2 separate regions of the Homo sapiens genome follow, and region 1 is linked to region 2. The links are contacts of gene promoters, found by promoter capture Hi-C in blood cells and fetal thymus (Javierre and others, 2016). All regions are on one chromosome and are shown on one strand. The core of a region is centred on a gene start or on the middle of the fragment in contact, and the rest is flanking DNA. Distances in the headings are between cores, read along the strand shown.

Region 1 (2,700 bases), core at 53-2,552, 1.3 Mb after region 2:
ATGATCATTCTTGATTTTACTACTTTTTACTGCCTATGGGCTTTTTTTTCAACTCATTTAAAAGGCATTATGCTTTGATAATGGACTGTCTGAAGATGGAACTGAATTATAATTTTTTAAACTTCAATTTAATCAATGCCAGAGGCTACCCAGAGATACAGGTTTGCTCACAAAAAGTTCTACTCTAGTTCAACTCTTTATATATTATTGTTATTGGAAAATATTTAGAGTGTATATACATGAATATGTGTGGATAAATATGTAAATATATTTTCAAAAGTAGTTTTCATGATGATAACAAGATATCTTGGAATTTTTATGGCTTTATTTACAGGATGAACATACAAGAAAGAAGAAATTTTTAGTAGTAGCAAAACAGGCCTTGGGATTTGGCAGACCTAGCTTTGAATTCTTGTTCTGCATTTTTCTAGCTATGTTACTTAATTTCTTTGAGTCTGGAAAATGATGATGGCAAGCCATATTGCTAAGGTCCAAATTAAATAACATTGTAAATCACCAACATGGTAGAAAGCCTTCAAAAACATTGGTATTCCCCTTAAGAAAAATTAGAGAATCTACTGGCCTAAATCTAGGTGGTGGCGGTTGGTTTTTGTTGTTGTTGTTGTTTTTGTTTTTTGCTCTGGAATACATAGCAACCAAAAAAGAGTAAATTGCATGTTTGCACAGCAACTTAATCTGCTTATGAGTAACATAAAGCAAACAGCAACCAAATCTACTTCTGAGTAACATAAAGGAAAAATAAACTAAGTTCAGCGAGACTTCCTAAGCTGGCTACAGGTCTTCCGGTAAAATTATAATTAACTATGAATGTTATAAGAAATTTTGCAGATGTATTCAGTTTTGCCTGATGGACTTAGCACATATTTAAAACAAATATGAAGAATTTGGTATTTTTAATATATATCACAAATGAAGTCTTTATTTTGCCTCAAATTGGTGCCTTTTCAATTTTTCCCTATTTACTCGTGATAGCACCATCTACAAAATGATTGCTCAAGCCACATATCTTGGATTAATTTTTGATATTTTTATTTCCCTCACTCTTCTATACCCAATCTTTTGTTTAAGTCCTTTGTGCTCTACCTCCAAAATATATCTTTAATTTGTCCTCTTCTCCTTTTACCCACTATTATTATAGCACAAGCCATTGCCACCTTTCATTTGAGCTACTACATTAGTCTCCTGAATTAAGTATTACCTGCAATCATAGAAACATCCAAAATAACTATTACTTTAAAAGTTAGTTGTTTTCTCTCTAACATAAAATAAATGAAAAGTTAAGTAATCCAGAACTGGTATGGTAGTTCTATGAAGCTGTCAGAAAGAATTAAGCTAGAGCTCACTAGGTAGGTGTGATTCCCAAGCCTATGTTATAGTCTATGAAGACTGATAGAACTCCAGCTATCACAAGCAGCAGTATGGAGGAAGTAGAGCAGAAGACTCTGCTCCTCCCATTAAAGAGACCACCTATAAGTACATATGACACTTCAATTTTCAGTATATTGGCCAGAAATTAGTCATGTTTCAATTAGCTGCAAGGGAGCCTGTAAAATGCTTCTAGGTCAGTGTGACTCACTAAGAACTGGGCTTCTGTTTTTATCTGCTTCTTGTCTACCTCTCTAAATTATGATTCAATATGCTCCTATTACACTTCAGTCATCTAAGTGTATACTAAGGTTTCTCCCTCTTTATGATCTTAGCACACACTATGTTTTCTGCCTAGGAGGTTCCAACTCCATCTCCCACCTCCCTCCGCCGCTGGATAACTACTTGTCTTTCAGGTTTTGCTCTAATGCAGCTTTTTCAGATAGATTTCCCAGATAACCCAATCAAAATTGCTACCTCTCATCAACGATCTGTTTCTCTTGCTCAGGGGGCCCATTTTTATTCTTCATAAAAATCATTGTCCATTTTCTTGTTTGATTTCAGTCTATCTCACTCTCTAGTCTAAAAAAAGGTCTGTGAGAGGACTGTGTTTCTTTTTTCTCAGTGTGCAAAGCCTGGTATTAGAAAAAAAAAAAGAAAAAAAAGAAAAGAAAGGAAGTAAGGGAGGGAGGAAAAAATGGAAATAAATAAAGGAAAATAGAAAATAGAAATTTATTTGAAAACCCAGGTATGTTGTTATCTTTTATAGACTGATTGTTTGGCTTTCACATGCCTTTTGGACACTTTCCATGTTCTTTGCCTCACAGTTATAGTTCAGAAAAAGATACATCTAATTCAACAAACATTCATTGAGTGAATAATTTGATCTTAAATGGAAAAACAATCAGCACTGATTTTTCAGTTCTGTTTTGCTGTTTCAAAATAATATTATAAAATCAATACCCACTGGATTCAACTCTCCAAGTGAAAATGGAACAGGGTGAATGAAGAGTTTTAAATCATATTTAGACAATGCCTCCTAAGAAAATGGCTTGAATGCATTTTAGAATAAGGTATGTGAGTAAAGGCTAACAGGTCTCTCTGCAAATACAAGCACAAAAATATAGGAATTAAATTTGTGTATTTGAATTACAATTGTCTGCTGCTATAATTGTATGTAAGAAAGTAAAATTACTTTAAAAGGCCTTTTGCCTGTGTGGTAATGAGTATGAAAGTGTTCTATTACATACACGATCATTTATTTCCTCTAAAAATCAATCCAGTTGGATTAAATGTTCCTGACTACCTTATGAA
Region 2 (2,700 bases), core at 51-2,550:
TAGAATATTAAAGCAGTGTTGCCACTTAACATTAATCCATGAACATATTCTACGCGTGACTACTGGAAAGCACTAATAACCACCCCAATCTAGTCTCTAGGAATTGGCATTTAAAAGCCCAAAGATGGAAAAAGGTCACCTAACCCGGCAACACATCCTGAGGGAAAGGAGGGACACAGGACTCCGTGCGCGATATCAACATTCTCTTCCTTTCTACTCTCCGCACCGCCCCCGCCCCCCGTGTCAGGTGATCAGTTATTTAGCACCATTAACACGTACGTATCGACAAGTGGTTCATTAAATTACATGTATTATCGGAAGGCAAGAGTCTAGGCTTCTCATTTCAAACTAAGCAAAAGGAGTCCACAGTTTGAGTCCCGGGCACAAAAGCGCGCGGTAACTGGAGGATAAATGGAAGAGCAACTCTCATCTCCAAAAAGCAGCAGCAGGGAGCAGCCTAGCAGCCAGGGCCAGTCCCAGTTTCCCGAAACCAAGGCCCAAAGCTCCATGCTGGGGCTCCCTGAGAAGGAAGAGGCCCCAACGGCCGGATCCGGGGGCCTGCGAGACGGGCCTTCCAGGCAGCGCCCGCCGTGCCTCGGGCCTGCGCGCCCGCGCCTCAGCGGCGGCGGGGCGCCCTCGCAGCAGACGGCTGGGTACCAGTGGTCGGGAGAGAGGCCGTGGTCCCGACCCTCCGCCTGGCGACCGCGTCGCTGCGACTCCCTCCCCAGCCCGCGGTCCAAATGGTCCACAGGCGCCAGCGGCGCGGCCCAGGTAGGCCGAGGACGTTGCGCAAGAGGCCCGAGAGGCGATCTCTCGGCTGCGCGGGAGAAAAGCGCGGAGAGTCCGCCGCGGGAGGGGCGGAGAGGCCCGCGGAGGCGCTGTGCGTGTGGAAGGGGATGGGGGAGGGGAGGATTGCCCGTCTCCCTGGCCGCGGCCACAGCCGCAACTCACCCAGCTCCGCCAGACGAGCGCTACCACTGGCAGCAAGAGGAAGATGGTGGACGCTGCCGCCGCCGAAGAGGAGGAGGAGGGGGCCCGGTGGGTGCCGCGGAGAGGGGGTACGCGCAGGACGTCGGCGTCGCTGCCACAGCCTCTTTTCCTCCTGGGACCAAATGGCTGCTGCTGACGACACTATTCTTGGCTTCCGCGCCGCCCTCCTAATCCTCGTTGCAGCCGCCGCCGCCCTGAGCCCGAAGGTCGCTTGCCGCGTGGGGACGGTGCGACGGCGCGAGACCCCGCAGCCATCGGCGTGCGGCGGCGGCGCGGGAGCTGGAGAGGGGCCGTGTCACGTGACCCCACTGTTTACCGTTCCGGGGGCCGCGGCCTGCGTCGCTGCCGCGCCTGCGCGCTTTAGGGCCTCGAGCGCCGCGCCTCCGTGGGGCCCCGGGCTGCAGCGCTTCCCGGCGTTGCCGCGCCCCTCCCTGTCTTCGGAGGACGCGGCACCGCCTGCGGGCTTCTAGCTCACACCTCCGCGCCGCCGGGAGGGGCGAATCAGAGGAGCGCTTTTTCTCGACCGTAGTAAGCACTAAGGCTTCACAGTTAATATAATATTGATGCGCAGCTCCCCAACCCCAGGTACTTTTTATTAATTGACTGTGAGTTCAAGAATGGTAGAATAGGATGGAGTAGATGAGCCCTCTGCCCAAATATCTGTGCTGGCTCGGCACAGCAGCCTTACCATTAACTACCTCCGTTACCCTCACCCTACATGGCTGATCTACCTCAGGACTCAAATTGCTACCTCCAAGAAACATTCTTGGTATCCAGTAAGCAGTCTTCAGAATGTGGTCCCAGGTTTCCCTGAGGGGTCGCCAAGACCTTTCAGTAGAGCCTCCATTCCTTTGCCAGGAGCATGTGTCTAAGGCCAAATTTTCTTCCCACCCTTCAACCAAAACAGCATATAGCAGCTGATTCAATGCAGAAACAGATAAGAGAATCCAGCCATCTTCTATTAAGCCAGACATTGAGGAAATCTGCAGAAATTTTAGATATCACCCTTTTATTAATTTGGAAAATATGCTTTTCATAAATACATTATTTGTGGTAACAAATATTGTGTAGAGGTCCAGAGACAAAAAAAGTTTGAGACCCACTGGTCTGCTTCCACAGACACTTGAGCTAACCCCTATCTCAGCCCTTAATAAGCGCTGTGAAGTAATTGTTGCTTGTCAGTCACTCCAACCAAAAGGAGCTACTTAGGGACAGGGTTTGTGGCTTTTATCTACAGGGACTATTACAGTATTCAGCCAGTACCTGCTGAGCACCTTACTGTGTGGTCTGCACTGTTCTAAAACCTTTACAGTACTTGTTGATTTAAGCTTTAGACCAACCGCAGCCCACATTGTAAGATTAGTGCAGGGTGGAAGAATAAGTCACAGGCATGTGGTGAAGATCTGTTCTTTCCTCTCTCTAGTCTTCTGATATTTTAAGCACTCTTAATAGCAAATGCTCTTCTACAAAGGAAGTTTGGGTTGTCCTGATTCCACTGGATTCTTAAGAGTTTCACCCCCTGTCTTGACTAATCAATCCCTCAAGACTTTGTTTTACAATCTTTTTGTAATGTGTTTTTGAGAAAGGAAAATAGAAATGAGTAATTTTTTTTTTTAATTCTCACTTGGGATGTCTGGGATGAATTATAAAAACAAGCCTAATGTTATTCTTACTCTTCTGGTGGATCTCAGTGTGACGTTTTAAAAGGGC

What was found. Contacts are between HindIII fragments. The CHiCAGO score rates a contact against its expected background, and 5 or more counts as called.
Region 1: a contact is called between a fragment that was not itself captured here and the fragment with the promoter of PHF3 in region 2, in 4 of 17 cell types (monocytes, total B cells, naive B cells and 1 more). The highest score is 13.8, in monocytes.

What each region holds. Positions count from the first base shown.
Region 1 is chr6:62,299,234-62,301,933 of GRCh38, reverse strand. No RefSeq gene overlaps it. Among named protein-coding and RNA genes, the nearest start is that of KHDRBS2, 14 kb to the right of the region's middle. The HindIII fragment of the contact is 3,646 bases long and covers 1-2,700 here.
Region 2 is chr6:63,634,402-63,637,101 of GRCh38, reverse strand. PHF3 (PHD finger protein 3) reads right to left here and starts at 1,300. Exons shown (of 16, transcript NM_001370348.2): 1 at 952-1,300. RefSeq lists silencers at 526-705, 1,146-1,505 and enhancers at 723-1,543, 2,075-2,612. The HindIII fragment of the contact is 3,030 bases long and covers 1-2,320 here.